Linked DNA regions of Homo sapiens: all the other regions are linked to region 3. The links are contacts of gene promoters, found by promoter capture Hi-C in blood cells and fetal thymus (Javierre and others, 2016). All regions are on one chromosome and are shown on one strand. Each heading gives the region's core, a stretch centred on a gene start or on the middle of the fragment in contact. The rest is flanking DNA. Distances are from core to core; before and after follow the strand shown.

Region 1 (2,700 bases), core at 56-2,555, 450 kb after region 3:
TGCACTCTTATCTGAAGACTCAACTGGCAGAAAATATGCATGCAAGGTCGCTCATTGGTTGTTGGCAGGCTGCAGTTTCTTACTGAATGTTGGCTGAAGACATCACTGGCTTGCTACATGGACATCTCCATAGACTGCTTGAATGTCCTCCCCACATAGCCAGAGTGAATGAGCTAAAAGAGAGACAGCAAGAACACACACACCCCAGATAAGAGTTCAGTCTTTCTAAGTCATATGAAAAAGATACTTGGACATGCATGTTTATAGCAGCACAATTCACAATTGCAAAAATGTGGAACCAGCCCAAATGCCCATCAATCAATGAGTGGATAAAGAAACCGTGGTGTGTGTGTGTGTGTGTGTGTGTGTGTATATATATATATATATATAATATATATATATGCATACAATGGAATACTATTCAGCCATAAAAAGAAATGAATTAATGGCATTTGCAGCAACCTGGATGGGATTGGAGACTTATCATTCCAAGTGAAGTAAGTCAGGAATGGAAAACCAAACATCCTACGTTCTCACTCATAAGTGGGAGCTAAGCTATGAGGATGCAAAGGCATAAGAATGACACAATGGAATTTGGGGACTCAGAGGGAAAGTGTGGGAAGGGGTTGACAGATAAAAGGCTATTAATTAGGTGCAGTGTATACTGCTCGGGTGATGGGTGCACCACAATTTCACAAATCACCACTAAAGAACTGACTCATGTAACCAAACACCAACTGTTCTTCAATAACCTATGGAAATAAAAAATTAAAAAAAAAAAGAGTTCAGTCTTTCTGTAATCTAATCTTGGAAGTGTATATTATCCTATCCTATCAGTCTTCCAGACCAACCCTGCTACAGGGTAGGTGGGGACTATATGGGATGTGAATACCAAAAAGTGGGCACACTGGGGGCTGGCTACTTGGAGGATGGTTACTACAAACTATATTTGTAATTTTTTTTTTCTCGAGATGGAGTCTTGCTCTGTCGCCCAGGCTGGAGTGCAATGGCATGATCTCGGCTCACTGCAACCTCCACCTCCTGGGTTCAAGTGATTCTCCTGCCTCAGCCTCCCAAGCAGCTGGGATTATAGGCATGCGCCAGCATGCCTGGCTAATTTTGTATTTTTAGTAGAGACGGGGTTTCTCCATGATGGTCAGGCTGGTCTACAACTCCTGACCTCAAGTGATCCCCCTGCCTTGGCCTCCCAAAGTGCTGGGATTACAGGCCTGAGCCACCACGCCCGACTATATTTGTAATTTTTTAACCACTGGAAAAAAAAAAAAGAAAGAAACAAGTATGGGAAAATACTAAGATCTGATAAAACTGGGTTATATTTGTGCAGCTGTTGATTACACTATTCTCTATAACTTTGAATGTTTTATAATAAAAATAAAAATATTTTCTCCTTAAAAATGTGCAGAGCATACCTCACATAATGTTGACAAATAATCCTAGAGACAATTATTTTTTTTTTTTTGAGACAGGGTCTCACTCTGTTGCCCTGGCTGGAGTGCAGTGGCACCATCTCAGCTCACTGCAACCTCTGTCTCCCAAGTTCAAGCAATTCTCCTGCCTCAGCCTCCTGAGCAGCTGGGACTACAGGCGAGCACCATGATGTCCGGCTAATTTTTGTATTTTCAGTAGAGACAGAGTTTCATCATGTTGCCCAGCTGGTCTCAAACTCCTGGCCGCAAGCGATCCACCCACCTTGGCCTCCCAAAGTGCTAGGATTACAGGCGTGAGCCACTGTGCCGGGCCAAATACATACATACATATATATATATATATATATATATATTTTTTTTTTTTTTTTGAGACAGCGTCTTGCTCTGTTGCCCAGGCTGGAGTGCAGTAGTGCAATTTCGGCTCACTGCAGCCTCTGCCTCGTGGGCTCAAGTGATTTTCATGCCTCAGCACCCGGAGTAGCTAGGACTACAGGTGCCCATCATCAGGCCCGGCTGATTTTTGTATTTTGAGTAGAGACGGATTTCACCATGTTGGCCAGGCTGGTCTCAAACTCCTGACCTCAGGTGATCCACCTGCCTCGGCCTCTCAAAGTGCTGGGATTACCGGTGTGAGCCACTGTACCTGGCCAAGACAATTTTAAGAAACAGGCACTCTCGGCTGGGCGCGGTGGCTCACGCCTGTAATCCCATCACTTTAGGAGGCTGAGGAGGGCGGATCACAAGGTCAAGAGATCAAGACCATTTTGGCCAACATGGTGAAACCCCATCTCTACTAAAAATACAAAAAATTGGCTGGGTGTGGTGGCTTGCACTTGTAATCCTAGCTACTTGGGCAGCTAACGCAAGAGAATCGCTTGAACCCAGGAGGCAGAGGTTGCAGTGAGCCGAGATCACGCCATTGCACTCCAGCCTGGGTGACAGAGTGAGACTCCGTCTCAAAAAAAAACAAAAACAAAACAAGGAGAAATAGTCCTTGTAAAGAAGGAAATTATAAGAAGGCAATAGACTGAAATGAACAAACAACAGGATGAACAAAAAAGGAAGCTGACTATTAATTCCTGAGCTTTCAACCCCTTACTGGGGCCAGGTGCAGTGGCTTACTCCCTTAATCCCTGGGCTTTGGGAGGCCCAGATGGGCAGATAGCTTGAGCCCAGGAGTTTGAGACCAGCCTGGGCAACAGGGTGAAATCCCATCTCTATTAATAAAGAAAAAAAAAAAAAAAAAGCGGGG
Region 2 (2,700 bases), core at 189-2,688, 470 kb after region 3:
TCACGCCTGTAATCCCAGCACTTTGGGAGGCCGAGGCGGGCAGATCACTAGGTCAGGAGATCGAGACCATCCTGGCCAACATGGTGAAACCCCGTCTCTACTAAAAACACAAAAAATTAGCCTGGCGTGGTGGCGGGCGCCTGTAGTCCCAGCTACTCGGGAGGCTGAGGCAGGAGAATGTCATGAACCTGGGAGGCGGAGCTTGCAACTTGCAGTGAGCCAAGATCTCGCCACTGCGCTCCAGCCTGGGTGACCACGCCTGGCCAATTTTTTTGTATTTTTAGTAGAGACGGGGTTTCACTGTGTTAGCCAAGATGGTCTCGATCTCCTGACCTCGTGATCCGCCCACCTCGGCCTCCCAAAGTGTTGGGATTACATGCGTGAGCCACCGCGCCCGGCCTCAATGCCCGGCTAACTTTTGTCCTTTTTTTGAGATGGCATCTCACTCTGTCACCCAGGCTGGAGTGCAGTGGCGTGATCCCGGCTCACTGCAACCTCTGCCTCGCGGGTTCAAGCGATTCTCCTGCCTCAGCCTACCGAGTAGATGGGATTACAGGCGCCCATCACCACGCCCGGTTAATTTTTGTATTTTTAGTAGAGATGGGGTTTCACCATGTTGGCCAGGCTGGTCTAGAACTCCTGATCTCAAGTGATTCACCTGCCTCGGCCTCCCAAAGTGTTAGGATTACAGTTGAGAGCCACCATGCCTGGCCTTTTGTACTTTTAGTAGAGACGGGGTTTGGCCGTGTTGCCCAGGTTGGTCTTGAGCTTGTGGCCCCAAGTGAATCACTCACTTCAGCCTCCCAAAGTGCTGGGATTACAGGCATTAGCCACTGCGCCCTGCCAATTTGATGGAAAATTTTAATGAGCAAATGCACTATAGTTTCTTATAATCTTGTCCCATTGATAGATTTTTCTTAGCAAATGGGTTTGTGCCTATGTGCACACATTAATAGTCCCTAAATGGAATACTCTCTTGCCTTCAGTAGTAATTCAATAGCATCCCTCCTTCAAATGAAGCTATTATTTTACAATTCAAGGGAAAAAAGTACTTGTTTTTCTTTTTTTTCTTTTCTTTTTTTTTTTTGAGACGGAGTCTCGCACTGCGGAGTGCAGTGGCACAATCTCAGCTCACTGCAAGCTCCGCCTCCCGGGTTCACGCCATTCTCCTGCCTCAGCCTCCCGAGTAGCTGGGACTACAGGCGCCCGCCATCACGCCCGGCTAATTTTTTTTGTATGCTTAGTAGAGACGGGGTTTCACCGTGTTAGCCAGGATGGTCTCAATCTCCTGACCTCACAATCCGCCCGCCTCAGCCTCCCGAAGTGCTGGGATTACAGGTGTGAGCCACCGCGCCCAGCCAAGCACTTGTTTTTCTTTGGGTAGGAAAACGTCTATAAAACACATACACTGTTTGTTTGTTTATTTATTTATGTGAGACTGAGTCTTGCTCTTGTCACCCAGGCTGGAGTGCAGTGGCACAATCTTGGCTCCCTGCAACCTCCACCTCCTGGGTTTAAGCGATTCTCCTGCCTCAGCCTCCCAAGTAGCTGGGATTACAGGCACCCACCACCAGGCCCGGCTACTTTTTGTATTTTTAGTAGACACAGGGTTTTGCCACATTGGCCAGGCTGGTCTCGAACTCCCGACCTTGTGAGCCACCTGCCTTGGCCTCTCAAAGTGCTGGGATTACAGGCGTGAGCCACCACGCCCGACCCATAGCTCTTCACAACTGCCTTGTAAAGAAAGCATCATTTGGCACTGTTAGTATTTCTCTTGAATTTTTTTTTTTTTTTTAGACAGAATCTCGCTCTATCGGCCAGGCTGGAGTGCGGTGGCACCATCTTGGCTCACTGCAACCTCCGCCTCCCGGGCTCAAGCAATTTTCCTGCCTCAGCCTCCCGAGTAGTGGGATTACAGGCATGTGCCACCACAGCCTGCTAATTTTTGTATTTTTAGTAGAGACGGGTTTTCACCATGTTGGCCAGGCTGGTCTCGGACTCCTGACCTCAGGTGATCCGCCCGCCTCGGCCTCCCAAAGTGCTGGGATCACAGGCATAAGCCACCGCGCCCGGATAAAATCATTTTTAAGGCTGACCATTCACACATAGAAACAAACTCATAAAAACTGACCTGCCACCTATAATGCATCACCTCAATTTCAGGAAATATTTGAGCAAGCAATAAATAAATTAGATAAAGCAGGACATTAACATTTTAAAAATATAGCTAATTTTAGTTGAAAATATAGCTAATTTCTTTAGTTGAATTTGGTTCAAATTGGATCAAGCGGTATGATCTTCTGAGAAAATCTTCTAGTATCTCGCTCCAAGTATCCAGAAGTACCTCAGAATGTTTCAAATTATTAAAAATACTTCTCAGCTGGTTCTTACCCCCACCTCCTCAAGTACTTCATTACTTTATCCATGAAATATCACCATTCTCACATTAAGGACAAGAAGTCTGAGACCTACGGTAATAGCTTCAATCATGAAGAGCGAAAGCTGTAATAACCATGTAGCTTTGTCTAAGTGTGCAGAGATCTGAAAGGCCACCAGGTTGGCTCTTTAACATAAAGCAGCAGAGAGTTTGCCTAAAGGAATTAACAGAAATAGGGAAGTAACTTTTATTTGCAGATCCTAGGAAGGTAGATTACAAACAACAGCAAATCTTAGTGTCTCTAAATAACACTCTAGGCCATT
Region 3 (2,700 bases), core at 75-2,574:
TAACAATAACTAAAATATCATCTCAAAATTTGAAAAAATGAATTAAAAATCCATCAGCAGTTATACAATCCAAAGCTGGCAGAGCTCCTGCTTCATAAACCGTATTGACAGTAATTCCGCATGGGAACATGTACAGTACTCAGCTTTTAAAAAGAGATTCTTTGTTAAGGTTTATCTCGAATTACGTGAGTTTTGAATTGTGCTATATCTTCAAGACGTTACCCCTTTCATAAACTACACTGCCCTACACACACTTTCATTTTTTTCAGCTGCGGATCGGATAGGTCTTGTTTAGATACTTTGTGCCATTTTTGTAACTTTTCAGATCAAAGGTGCTTCCCCCCACCTTCCAGCTCCGTCAAATGCTGCAGTCATTTCTGTCCTGGTTAGAAAACCTAGAATCTCGCATGCTAGGTGCTACGTTGTTTTTGCAAATTACTGTTTAGCAGTTATTTAGTGCACAGGTCTTGAAAGCAGACATGCAGACATTCTACCATTTACTGTTACTTTAGACAAATTGTTTAGCTTTGGAGCTTCAGTTGCCTCTTCTGTATATTGAGCACAATCGTATTTTCCACACAAGTTTTATAAGAATTCAAGATGACATACATAGTACGGCGCGCTTGGCAAGTAGTGAGGGTTCTCAACCGCTCGGCAATGGATAAGATAACTTGCTATCTCTCTGGCTGAGGCAGCCCCATTTCAGGAGCTTCTCTCAATGCGGCTTGAGGACTCGACAAAAGGGTGGGGCTTTGGAGTCTAACGCTCTCTGCTAAACTCTGTAAGTTTAATAGGCAGAGTTACACATGGCAAGGGGTCTGGGCGGGGTGGGAACTAGCGCGTCCTCCTGTCACCCTTGCGGCGGCCCCGACGCAGTTGCCGGACTGAAACCAGCAGATCTGGCCCCAGCCGCATTCCTTCTTCCCTCTCCCTCCCAGCTGGGCGGCTCCGGCAATGAAAACACCGCCACGTGGGCCTGCTGCCTTTGCGTCACGCGCCTTTGTCCAATGGAGAGCCGCGTTACGAAGCCAGGGGCGGGTCGCCAGCCGGGCGGGTCCGCCCACAGCTGCCACGGATTGGCCAAGGGGGGCGGTGCCCGCCAGCCGTGGCTTGGGCTCGTGGCCAATGGTGGCCGGAGGCAGGGGCCCCGCCCTATCAGGTGCTCTGGTCCTCGGGACCAGCTGGAGGGGCGAGAAGGGGCGGGGCGAAGCCGGGGACGCGGCGGGGACGGGGCGGGGTAGGGGCGGGGTGGGGACGGGGCGGGGTAGGGGCGGGGTGGGGACGGGGCGGGGTAGGGGCGGGGCAGGACCGGCGACCCGGCCCGTGGAGCCGGCGCGGGCGGGCTGCTGAGGTGGCTGTCGCCGGCTCCGAGCTGCGGCTTCCCGGGCCGAGCCCCCGATGGAGGCCGAGGCCGCGGACGCTCCCCCGGGCGGGGTTGAGTCGGCGCTCAGCTGCTTCTCTTTCAACCAGGACTGCACGTAAGCTGCGACTCGGCCCCTGCCAGGGAGGTGGGGGACAGAGTGTCAGGACCCAGGGGTGTCGTCCTGAGAGCAGCTTGTGGCTTCCGCCTCGAGGCGGCCTCGGCGGGAGGGCCGGTGTCTGCTTCGGACGCATTGGGATCTTGTTATCCCCGTACCCCTTCAGTGGGGTTTGCCGCACCCCCCACCCCACCCCACTCCCAGTGTCCTCCCAGAGCGACAAGGTTGGGCCAAGGGTGAAAGCAGGGAGTTCGCAAAGGGAGTGGTGGGGCTGCGGGGGCCACGGAATATGGGGGGAGCAGGGCGGTGGGAAAGCCAGTGACCAAAGTGGGTGTCTGGGGAAGAGAGACAGTGGCCAAAAGAAAGAGATGAGAAAGGAGAGGAAGTTGCAAGTTGACCCAGGACTCTGTAGTTGGGGCCCAGGAAGATGAGAGTACAGGAAAAACTTTCCCATTTGTCCTTGAGCATCTCAACGTGGCATCTGGGCAGGGCCTCGGACAAAGAGGCAGCCTATCCCTGCGGCCAGGCCAGCCCCTGTCCCATCCCCGACGCAGGGCATCGTGCCTGCCCGCTCTGGATGGAAGAAACCTTTGGATTTCTTTGGCTGTTTTCACATCGCCCACCCAGCCAGGCAGGATCTCCTTCTCGGAGTCCAAGACTCTTTTCCCGGGCGCAGACTGCTTTCTCTCCAGGAAACAGGAGCTCCACCCTGTTGTTTTTGAGTGGATTTTTAATGTTTTACTTCGATGTTCACATTTGGGCTTTGAGAGGGAGCTGGGCTGAAGTGTGTTTCAGGCATCTGCAGGATTCTGTGACTTACAGGCAAACGCCTGTTTCTTTCCCTATTTTCATGGAAGCGAGCCCTGGGGACCATATGGAATCATCTTTTTGGAATGTGCACCCTGAGCATCAGGCGGGGATGACCGATTCCCAGTTTCCCACTTCCTGCTGTACCAGTTTCTGTGCCTTGGCTGCTGGTGACTGAGCTACGCTAATATTGATCCTTCAGTGGTGTAATTAAGGCCATTATGTACCATTAGCCACCCTGGCTTCCATTCCCTTTATGTTTCTGTTTAAAAACACCCGGTGCTGAACAATATGCCTTTGTTTGAAAAACCCATATGTGTAATCATGTAATCGAGTAGCTCTACAGCTTGGTTATTTGAGTGACTTTCAAGTTTTTCTTGACCACAATCCACAATACGAAATATGTATTGCAACA
Region 4 (2,700 bases), core at 179-2,678, 430 kb after region 3:
GAGTTTCGAGACTAGCCTGGGCAAAATGACAAGACGCCATCTCTACAAAAAATAAAAAATATATTAGCTGGGCATGATGGTGCATTCCTGTACACAGCTACCTGGGAGATTGAGGCAGAGGATCACTGGAGCCCAGGAGTTTGAGGTTAGCAGTGATCACGCCACTGCACTCCAGTCTGGGCAACAAAGCAAGACCCTGTCTCAAAAAAAAAAAGGAAAGAAAAGAAAAAAAATCTGAAAAAGAAATTCCATTATATGGATGTACCACAGTTTGTTTATCCATTCACCTATGGAAGCACATCTTGGTTGGTTCAAATTCTGGCAATTACGAATAAAGCTGCTATAAACAGTTGTGTGCAGGTGGAGATTTTTGTGTAGACATACGTTTTCAACTCACTTGGATAAATACCATGGATTGCGATTGCTGGATGGTATGGTAAGACTATGTTTACCTTTGTAAGAAACTGCCAAACTATCTTTTGAAGTTGCTGTACCATTCTGCATTCCCACTAGCAATGAATGAGAGTTCCTCTTGTTCCATATCCTCACCAGAATTTGGTGTTGTCAGTGTTTTGCATTTTAGCCATTACAATAGATGTGTAGCGGTATCTCATTATTTTGATTTGCAATTCCATAATTTCACTGTGAGGTGAGTTTCTTGGTTGGAGCAGTGTTGTCTCTTTGGGAATCCATGACAGCATAAAAGACTTGCAAAGTGAAAGGAGGGGCCGGGCGCGGTGGCTCATGTCTGTAATCCCAGCACTTTGGGAGGCCGAGGTGGGCGGATCATGAGATCAGGAGTTTGAGACCAGGCTGGTCAACATGGTGGCCCCATTTCTACTAAAGATACAAAAATTTAGCTGGGCGTAGTGGCACGCGACTGTAATCCCAGCTACTCGGGAGGCTGGGGGAGGAGAATCGCTTGAACCTGGAAGGCGCAGGTTGCACTGAGCCGAGATCATGCCACTGTACGCCAGCCTGGGCGACAGGGCAAGACTCCGTCTCAAAAAAAAAAGAAAGTGAATGGATGGTGGTGCTGGCAGCAGAGTGACACATTGGAAAGTAAATATGGCCCAATCCAGATAAAATGTCTCTTCCTCCTGATCTATTATGGAAAGGGTCCAATGTTATTGTCATGATCACCAGGTAATTGAATGGTCCCTTCAGGGTGTGAAGCCAACATCAGGGCTGGTTGGGCCCCCGGCAGAAATAGTAGCCAGACCAGACTCAGTAGTAGGAAGTGAATGATACTGAGCGTATGCATAGCCTCTGTCTCTGCTGCCTTGGCCATGTGGTTCATGATCCCATTAAGCAAGCACTAGCCTGGCAGGGGAAGGAGGATGATGGACATCTACAGAGCAGGCCATCATGGCCACCTGAATATTAATAGCCTATTCCACAGTGGAGGCCTTTGGGTGAACATCCATATAACTCAAATCCACACCTTCTAAGTTCATTCCAAAAGATCCATACATCTACCCCTTCTCCAAACCACCTTTGTTGTCAATCCTATCTTCCTCTCACAAATTCCTGAGTGTATTGTTTATGACTCTTTTGGTTGCAAGAGGCAGAAGACCCAATCCTAAGTTGGCTTATGAGTAAAGGAATTTGCCACCTCAAATAAGAAGGCTGGGTGCCGTGGCTCATGCATGTAATCCCTGCACTTTGGTAGGTTGAGGTAGGAGGATCACTTGAAGCCAGGGGTTTGTGTAACCAACAGAGGGAGACCCCCTTTTTCTACAAAAAAAAAAAAAAATTATCCAGGTGTGGTGGTGTGCACCTGTAGTATCAGGTACTTGGGATGCTGTGGCAGGACAATTGCTTGAACCCAGGAGTTTGGGGCTGCAGTGAGCTATGATTGAGCCACTGCACTCCAGCCTGGGTGACTGAGCAAGACCCTGTCTCTAAAAAAAATAATAATAATAACAAAAGTCCAGACCGGGCGTGGGGGTCGTGCCTGTCATCCCAGCGCTTTGGGAGGCCAAAGCCGGTGGATCACCTGAGGTCAGGAGTTCGAGACCAGCCTGGCCAACTCCAGTAGAGATGGCAAAACTCTGTCTCTACTAAAAATACAAAAATTAGCTAGCCATGATGTGATTCAGGAGAATCACTTGAACTTGGGAAGCAGAAGTTGCAGTGAGCTGAGATTGAGCCACTGCACTCCTGCCTGGGTAATAGAGCAAGACTGTCTCAAAAAAAAAAAAAAGAAAGAAAGAAAAGAAAAGAAGGCTGGGCATGGTGGCTCATGCCTAGAATCCCAGCAGTCTGGGAGGCTGAGGTGGGCAGATTGCTTGAGTCCAGGAGTTTGAGACCAGCCTGGGCAACATGGTGAAACCTGGTCTCTACAAAAAATATAAAAATTAGCCAGGCATGGTGGTGCACGCCTGTCATCCCAGCTACTTGGGAGGCTGAGGCGGAAGGATCATTTGAGCCTGGGAGTTGGAAGCTGCAGTAAGACGTGATTGCATCACTGCACTCCAGCCTGGGCAACAGAGTGAGAACCAGTCTCAAAAAAACAAGCAGATCGGGCATGGTGGCTCACACCTGTAATCCCAGCACTTTGGGAGGCCGAGGCAGATAGATCACTTGAGGTCAGGAGTTTGAGTTTGAGACCAGCCTGGCCAAAACAGTGAAACCCCGTCTCTACTGAAAATACAAAATATAGGCCGGGTGCGGTGGCTCACACCTGTAATCCCAGCA
Region 5 (2,700 bases), core at 66-2,565, 330 kb after region 3:
GACATCCTGGCAGAGATGAGCACACAGCCTTGGGCACGGTTCAGGGCAAACTGAAATGTATGCCTGAATTTTGTAAACAGAAGTATTAAAGGTCTTTCTACAAAAAAAAAAAAAAAAATCATGAACGCTAAATGCAATGTCTGATGTTGGATTGGATTCTGAATTTTTTAAGCCATGTTATGATTGGGACAATTGTGAAAATGTGTATATGGGCTGCATAGTAGACAATGATAATATGAAGTTCCATTGGGTGATGATAGTCCTCTGGTTATGCAGGAGAATGCCTTGCTTCTTAGGGGCTGCACACTGAAGTCTTTAATGGCAAAGGGTCATTTTGTCTGCAACTGACTCTCAAATGGTTTGTCCAGAAAATGTATAGACATACACACATGGAAAGCAAATGTGGCAAAGTATTAGCAACTGTTGATTCCAGATGAAAGTTATACAGGTGTTCATTATACCATCTGAAAATGCTTCCTAGCCATCCTAAGGCTTAAAGGAAAAAAAGAAAATGTTTAAAATCAAAAGTCGGGGGCAGGAAAAGAATAACAATTAAACTTCAGGCTCATGCCTGTAATCCCAGCACTTTGGGAGGCCAAGGAGAGAGGGTTGCTTGAGCTCAGGAGTTTGAGACCAGCCTGGGCAACATGGTGAAACCCCATCTCTACAAAAAATACAAAAATGAGCCAGGCATGGTGGCACTCACCTGTAGTTCTAGCTACTCAGGAGGCTGAGGTGGGAGGATCATTTGAGCCCAGGAGGCAGAGGCTGCAGTGAAGTGAGATTGCACCACTGCACTCAGCCTGTGTAACAGAGTGAGACTTGGCCTCAAAACAAAAGAAACACTTTTGTGTCAGAGTTAAGGTTGCTATATAAGTAAAATGCTAGGTTACGGTTCTGGGTACATTCAATCTGTATGAAGATCAGAGACCTCTATTGGACCCAAAGGAATACTAGTCACTTGTGATTATTCCTCTATAGGTTTGAAAGATGTGTCAGACCAACTTATTGGATGCAGTTTTAATCTAAAACTCCATAAATTGTACCCCCAACTCATAGACTTCATTTATCTGTTGAATACTCTTCTGTTTCCACAGTCTTAATGTGGCCCTAATAAAGTCATCCTTTTGGAGGACTCAGAAAAGGCCCCCCCACAACCTCTGTAATGTAATAATTACAGTAGTTAACATTTATTGAGCACTCACTGTGTGTCAGGCATTTTTCAGGTACTGATTCATCTAATCCTCAAAACTCATTAGAGGTAGGTACTATTATAATGACAAGGCCAAGGAACAGAGATTAATCAATGTGCCCAAATTCACATTATTCACAGAGCTGGGATTTAAGCCTAGTCTGGCTGTGGAATCTGTATTCTTAATGACCATGCTATATTGCTTAAGATTAACCTTGAGAATTTACTCCAGTTACAAAGATTGTTTTTATTTCTCTGAAACTGCCCCCAATGAGCCATAACAATAAATTAATCAATTATCTTGGTTATCTCTTTTGCCCAAGTTTATATTTCAAAAAAAATTCAAACATACCAGAAAGATGAAAGAATAGCACAGAATCCAATCAAAGATTAGGCACTGCATGTCATGTCTTCATTTCCTTTAATCTAAAACATTCCTCTACTTTTTTTGATCTTTCATGACATGGCATTTTTTAAGAGTCAAAGATAGTTGTTTTGTAAATTGTCCCATAATCTGGATTTGTCTGTTTCCACATGATGAGATTCAAGGTAAGCATTTTTGGGAAAAATACTGCATAGGTGATATATCCTTCCTGCCTCGTGATTGCAGGTGGCTCATAATGCTAAGTTTGATCACTTGTTTAAGGTGATCTTCCAGATCTCTCCATTGTAGTTATTTTGCTGGGTGTGGTGGCTCATGCTTATAATCCCAGCACTTTGGAAGGCCGAGACGGGCAGATCGCTTGAGTCCAGGAGTTTTAGACCAGCCTGAGCAACAAGGTGAAACCCTGTCTCTACTAAAAATACAAAAAAAAAAAAAAAAAAAAAAAAAAATTAGCTGGGTGTGGTGGTACAAGACTATAGTCCCATATACTTGGGGGGCTGAATTTGGAGACTCACTTGAGCCCAGGGTGGGGGTCGAGGCTGTTGTGAGCTACGATTTTGCCACTGTATTTCAGCCTGGGTGACAGAGTGAGACTTTGTCTCATAAAAAAATAAAAAATAATTTTTCCCTTTGGTAATTAATAAAATATCTGTGTGGTGGTACTTTGAGATCAGTAAAGATCCTGTTCTCAAATGTCTTCTCACCCAGCTGTGTCCATCAATGACAATCCTTGTCTGAATCAATTTTTATTACATTGGTGGTTGCAAAGTAACACTTTTTAAAATTCTGTCATTCCTTCTACATTCATTAGCTGGCATTATTTCATTAAAGAACAACTCCCTCTCTTTTTAAATATCATTCTTCATGGATTCTTTTTTATATATTAATTATGTTGTAGCTTATTGTTACTCTTTTGAATGCTCAAATTGTCGAGATTTGGCCAATGCAATCTGTTATTTTTTTAACCCCACAATCCAGGTTAAACTGAGCTATTTTTAATGCCCAGAGTAATTTCTAATATTTCCCACTGCCAACAGAAATTGAGAAAGGGACTCCAGAAGTTGGGGGCTTATTCAGACTCTTCTTAGAAGTCTACTTTCTTCCTGTGTACTTTCAGCCCAAA
Region 6 (2,700 bases), core at 68-2,567, 340 kb after region 3:
AATCAATTTGACTTGACCTGTGAGTTACAAATGTAGCAGAAGCATTATACCTTCTGTACTGAAACATTCTGAGGACCATCATGATATGTACATGTGTATACACACATGCATGCATACACATTCATTTAACAAGGAAAAAAGGCATAACAAATGGAAGCAAAGAGAACCAGTATTCAGTTCGTCATATATCGTTTAAATCTCAAAACTGTTCCTGACAATGTAAAGCAGAGGCAATAACATGCTGAAGGAGAGATGGAGAAAACACAGGGCCTGCAGTCTCATTGGACTCAGATGATCTATTGGGGAGTTCTAAAATACTTGTCCAGTAGCAGTACTATCCTAACCTCATTATGAATATATCTATTAGGATATCCTCAGTAATACAAACATTAGGGAATAGAATACCCAAAAAATAAATGTCGATGAGAAAGTTATACCGCAGGAAATATCTTAAATTGGTAAGTACAAAGATGCGTATGTCATAAGCTGGCAAGCAAGTCCTTACCTGGCAACCCCTCCGTAGTCAAGGCCTTCTTCTCCATGAAATTTTATCATTAATCGCTTCCAGAGATCTTTTGGTCTCATTTTCATGACCTGTCAATATGATTCCTGAAAAAAATAATTTTTAACACACTATTACTATTAGGTCCTGTTAGCCTATTACTTAATTGCTCCCTGCCAATCCGCTCAAAAAACTCAAGTCAAAATAAGGTGAAATTTGGCCAGGTGCAGTAGATCACACCTGTAATCCTCAGGTGGGAGGATCACCTGAGGCCAGGAATTCTAGACCAGCCTGGGCAACACGGTGAAACTCTATCTGTGCAAAAAAGTTTTTTCTTAAATAGCTGGGCATGGTGGCAGGCGCCTATAGTCCTAGCTACTTGGTAGGCTAAGGTGTGGGAGGACTACTTGAGCCCAAGAGTTCAAGGCTACAGTGAGCTATGATCATGCCACTGCACTCCAGCCTGAGTGACAGAGCAAGACCTTGTCTCTTTTAAAAAAATAAAGAGGCCAGGTGCAGTGGCTCACACCTGTAATCCCAGCACTTTGGGAGGCCGAGGCGGGTGGATCACGAGGTCAAGAGATCGAGACCATCCTGGCAGACATGGTAAAACCCCATGTATACTAAAAATACAAAAATTAGCTGGGCGTAGTAGTGGGTGCCTGTAATCCCACCTACTCAGGAGGGTGAGGCAGGAGAATCGCTTGAACCCAGGAGACGGAGGTTGCAGTGAGCTGAGATCACGCCACTGCACTCCAGCCTGGGCAACAGAGCAAGGCTCTATCTCAAAAAATATATACACATACATATTTGTATATGTGTATACAAATATGTATGTGTATACACATATATTTGTATATATGTGTATATATTTTTTGAATATATATATGCTTACATTCTAATAAAATTAAGTTTCTTCCTTTCTTTTGCCTTTTAGAAAAAATATACACATAAAATAAGGCAAGCAAAAGCAAGCCAGGCACAGCAATGTCTCAGGCCTATAATCCCAGCACTATGGAAGGCCAAGGCAGGGGATCACTTGAGGCCAGGAGTTCGAGACCAGCCTGGGCAACACAGTGAGGCCCCATCTCTACGAAAAATAAAAAAAATTTAAAAATTAGCTGAGCATGGTAGTGCATGTTTGTAGACCCAGCTATTCAGAAGGCTGAGGTGGGAGGATCACTTGAGCCCAGTTCAAGATCACAGTGAGCTCTGATTGTGCCATTGCACTGCAGCCTGGGTGACAGAGACCCTGTCACAAAAATAATACAAGCAAAAACGATAAATACTCATAATCCAACCCATACTTAACACACCAATCACCTCCTTTCTTTTCTATGGTCACATTTTAGATATGTTTATTCTTTATATCCCACCTTTTTCCAAAAATGATTTGAGGGGACTGACAGCTGGTAAACAAGCAAACTTTGTTAAGTCCTGGTTGTCATAATCCTCTTTCATCACATAGTAAGAGATGAAAAAGATTAATTAATTTAAAAATGTAAGGTTCATAATAGAAATTCTGAAAGGAAAACTACAGGACCCCATCTAGGCTTTTTCTGATTTCTTATATCTCCATTCATGGTACCACATAATAAAAATAATATCTGTCACATATCAAAAATGATAAATACTTATTGGCTGAACAAATTAAACAATGGCTCCAAAGCATTACAAGATTCTAAATCAAAGACTCAATTTGTTTGAAAGCTGCTTTATTTTAAAGCTATAGTAATCAAGACAGCACGGTGTTAAAAAGAATAAACTTAAAGGGGTAGAATCATAGATAAAGAAAACAGAAGACAGTCCAGAAATAGAATTATATGTATATTGTCAACTGATTTTTTTGTTTGTTTTGAGACAGAGTCTCATTCTGTCACCCAGGCTGGAGTGCAGTGGCACCATCTGGGCTCACTCCAACTTCCGCCTCCTGGATTCAAGGGATTCTCTTGCCTCAGCCTCCTGAGTAGCTGGGATTACAGGCGCCCGCCAGCATGCCCAGCTAACTTTTGTATTTTTAGTAGAGACGGGGTTTCGCCATGTTGGCCAGGCTGGTCTCGAACTCCTGACCTCAAGTGATCTGCCTGCCTTGGCCTCCCAAAGAACAGGCATGAGCCACCACACCTGGCTTGTCAACTGATTTTCTACCAAGGTGCCACGACAATTCAATGGAGGAAACAAAAGTATTTTCAACAAAT
Region 7 (2,700 bases), core at 173-2,672, 300 kb after region 3:
GAATAAACTCTCTGCCGAAGAGTTTACTAGATTATGTTTCCCGAATCGAGAATTCAGTTCCAGCTTTCATTTCTGGCACTGACATATTGGCCAAATAGGATTCTTATGCAATAATCAGTTGCTTTGCTGTGAGCCTTGGAAGTGGTCATGCTATTGAATGCCATTGCTTGTATTCCCTGTTCAGTTCTACAGTGGTGCAAATGTTATAGGCTGTGCCCAGAGGAAGCCCGATGTTTAGCAAAGAGTCCCTGAACAGAGTTGCTCTTCTGCTTCACAGCCCTGAAGACTTAGAGACAGAGATCCTAATTAAGTTACCACAGACCTTATTTGCTTGTAAGAGGTGGCCCTGATTGCTCTCGGCTTTCCAACCTGGGCCGCCCTTCTAGTGAAAGTCTTACTTCCTTGGTCATCAACTGTCAAGTCTGAGTAACAACCTTTAATAACCAAGCTAAATGTGTGGGTTGTTTACCTCTCCCTAGTATACAAAGGTATCCCTTGCACACACTCAAAACTTCTTAGACCAAAAGCCTTATATCTCTAATTTGCCTTGAAGGAAGTTGTATTGTCTATAGAGTATGCGGGATATTTTCTGCCAATAAAATGTTCAAGTGTTCTCTCTCTCTGAAGCTTTGCTCATTGTATCTGGTGGAATTTTGGTTCTCAGGGAGTAGACACCTAGCCGTGCTTCTAATGTGAAGTGTCTACTAGCCCAGTGGTCTCCATTTTGGATTTGAACTTCGACCCCCCCACCTGATGCCTTACTATTTAATATTGTGATTGAACATTTTTGTTTCCAAATTTTTTATTTCTTATGTTATTATTCCTTAGTTCCTATCTGTAAGATCATAAAGTCCTTTGAACCAAACACAGTTGATATTTCATACATATGTTAAAAACTGAGGTGTGAGACCGGACATGGTGACTCACACCTCAAATCTCAGCACTTTGGGAGGCCAAGACAGAAGGACACTTCAAGTCAGGAGTTCGAGACAGCCTGAAATAACAAAGCAGGACCATGTCTCTAAAAAAGAGAATTAGCCGGGCACAGTGGTGTAGTCCCTGCTACTCTGGAGGCTGAGGCAGGAAGATCACTTGAGCCCAGGAATTCCAGGCTGCAGTGAGCTATGACAGTGCCACTGTACTCCAGCCTGGGTGACAGAGTGAGACCCTGAAAAAGAAGAAAGGGAGGGAGGGGAGGGGAGGGGAAGGGAGGGGAAGGAAGGGGGAAAGGGAAAGGGACAGGGAAGTATGTGATGAGATGAGGAAACTTCCAGGAAAATGCTCTTATTTTCTGCTTTTAGAAACCAAAAGAATGTCTCACTGTGGGGTGCTACCATTATATGCAGGAAGTTTTAGAATGAAAAAGATTCTGAATTGCTCCTTGCTAACTTTATTTCAGAAAGTGGTAAAATAGCTGTGGAGTACAGACCCAGTGAAGAGATTGTAGATGTCAGATGGGAAGAAGAACTACACGGCTTAATTCAAGTATGTGGAGATAAAAACTCAAGGGTAACAGAGCCAGGCGTGGTGGCTCACACCTGTAATGCCAGTGCTTTGGGAGGCCGAGGCCGGCGGATCACCTGAGGTCAGGAGTTCAAGACCAGCCTGACCAACATGGAGAAATGGTGGCGCATGCCTGTAATCCCCGCTACTCGGGAGGCTGAGGCAAGAGAATCACTTGAACTGGGAGGCGAAGGTTGCTGTGAGCCAACATCATGCCATTGCACTGAATCCTGGCCAACAAGAGCGAAACTCCATCTCAAAAAACAAACAAACAGGCCAGATGCCATGGCTCACGCCTGTAATCCCAGCACTTTGGGAGGCCAAGACGGGTGGATCACGAGGTCAGGAGTTCAAGACTAGCCTGGCCAACGTGGTGAAACCCTGTCTCTACTAAAAATAGCTTAGGTGTGCTGTAGGCTATACCACCTAAGTTTGTGTAAGTATACGCTATGATGGCAAGCAACTCATGACTGTATATGAAAGCTCTTAAATAGGGATTAAGTTTCTAAATCTCAAAACAGTCATTATTTACTATATATGGAATTTAAAAAAAAAAAGGGGCAAAAGTTTCATTTCAGTGAGAACTTCATTTGGGGCTAGAGTGTTTTATTTAACTTTTACACCAAAGTTGCAAAGTGTTTTGAAGTTTTTCCCTGTAAAATAATTATTTTAATTCAATTTAAATAAAACCCACCAAGAAAACTTCAAGCTTTAAGAAGTCTAGCTTCCCGTGAAATGTGAGAGGAAGTCAGCACTGATTTCAGAAATCTGATTATAACAATAGATCTATCCCTAAATGAGGCGAATCTTGGAATCCCTTCAATTTTATTTTATTTTATTTTATTTTATTGAGGCAGAGTTTCACTCTTGTTGCCCAGGCTGGAGTGCAATGTCGCGATCTCGGCTCACTGCAACCTCCACCTCCCAGGTTCAAGTGATCCTCCTGCCTCAGCCTCCCGAGCAGCTGGGATTATAGGCATGCGCTACCACACCCGGCTAATTTTGTATTTTTAGTAGAGACAGAGTTTCACCATGTTGGTCAGGCTGTTCTTGAACTTCTGACCTCGGTGATCCGCCTACCTCAGCCTCCCAAAGTTCTGGGATTATGGGTGTGAGCCACTGCACCTGGCCCCCCTTCAATTTTAAAACCATCACTGTGCACGCTATGCCTATGCCAGGCACTGGAAGAAGATGAAG

Evidence for each region. Contacts are between HindIII fragments. The CHiCAGO score rates a contact against its expected background, and 5 or more counts as called.
Region 1: a contact is called between a fragment that was not itself captured here and the fragment with the promoter of WIPI1 in region 3, in 9 of 17 cell types (naive CD8 T cells, non-activated CD4 T cells, total CD4 T cells and 6 more). The highest score is 8.2, in naive CD8 T cells.
Region 2: a contact is called between a fragment that was not itself captured here and the fragment with the promoter of WIPI1 in region 3, in 9 of 17 cell types (total B cells, naive CD4 T cells, non-activated CD4 T cells and 6 more). The highest score is 12.3, in total B cells.
Region 4: a fragment that was not itself captured here is called in contact with the fragment with the promoter of WIPI1 in region 3 in 9 of 17 cell types (naive CD4 T cells, non-activated CD4 T cells, naive CD8 T cells and 6 more); the score reaches 13.0 in naive CD4 T cells.
Region 5: a contact is called between a fragment that was not itself captured here and the fragment with the promoter of WIPI1 in region 3, in 1 of 17 cell types (naive CD8 T cells). The highest score is 5.1, in naive CD8 T cells.
Region 6: a fragment that was not itself captured here is called in contact with the fragment with the promoter of WIPI1 in region 3 in 5 of 17 cell types (naive CD8 T cells, activated CD4 T cells, naive CD4 T cells and 2 more); the score reaches 7.3 in naive CD8 T cells.
Region 7: a fragment that was not itself captured here is called in contact with the fragment with the promoter of WIPI1 in region 3 in 7 of 17 cell types (total CD8 T cells, naive CD4 T cells, non-activated CD4 T cells and 4 more); the score reaches 9.4 in total CD8 T cells.

The regions. Positions count from the first base shown.
Region 1 is chr17:68,004,282-68,006,981 of GRCh38, reverse strand. No RefSeq gene overlaps it. Among named protein-coding and RNA genes, the nearest start is that of C17orf58, 9.2 kb to the right of the region's middle. The HindIII fragment of the contact is 4,873 bases long and covers 1-2,700 here.
Region 2 is chr17:67,985,638-67,988,337 of GRCh38, reverse strand. No RefSeq gene overlaps it. Among named protein-coding and RNA genes, the nearest start is that of C17orf58, 9.5 kb to the left of the region's middle. The HindIII fragment of the contact is 3,310 bases long and covers 1-2,700 here.
Region 3 is chr17:68,456,120-68,458,819 of GRCh38, reverse strand. WIPI1 (WD repeat domain, phosphoinositide interacting 1) reads left to right here and starts at 1,324. Exons shown (of 13, transcript NM_017983.7): 1 at 1,324-1,478. The coding sequence starts at 1,399. It also overlaps a transcript of PRKAR1A not described here. RefSeq lists silencers at 882-1,168, 905-1,584. The HindIII fragment of the contact is 11,803 bases long and covers 1-2,700 here.
Region 4 is chr17:68,024,524-68,027,223 of GRCh38, reverse strand. No RefSeq gene overlaps it. Among named protein-coding and RNA genes, the nearest start is that of TRR-CCG2-1, 5.9 kb to the right of the region's middle. The HindIII fragment of the contact is 5,801 bases long and covers 1-2,700 here.
Region 5 is chr17:68,130,618-68,133,317 of GRCh38, reverse strand. It overlaps LINC00674 (long intergenic non-protein coding RNA 674), which reads right to left. Exons shown (of 6, transcript NR_027418.1): 6 at 1-2,700. It also overlaps the pseudogene LRRC37A16P and the pseudogene SH3GL1P3. Among named protein-coding and RNA genes, the nearest start is that of LINC00674, 30 kb to the right of the region's middle. The HindIII fragment of the contact is 5,734 bases long and covers 1-2,700 here.
Region 6 is chr17:68,112,331-68,115,030 of GRCh38, reverse strand. It overlaps LINC00674 (long intergenic non-protein coding RNA 674), which reads right to left. Exons shown (of 6, transcript NR_027418.1): 4 at 506-609. Among named protein-coding and RNA genes, the nearest start is that of LINC00674, 12 kb to the right of the region's middle. The HindIII fragment of the contact is 8,635 bases long and covers 1-2,700 here.
Region 7 is chr17:68,153,342-68,156,041 of GRCh38, reverse strand. No RefSeq gene overlaps it. Among named protein-coding and RNA genes, the nearest start is that of LINC00674, 53 kb to the right of the region's middle. RefSeq lists enhancers at 1,135-1,634, 1,635-2,136. The HindIII fragment of the contact is 1,585 bases long and covers 630-2,214 here.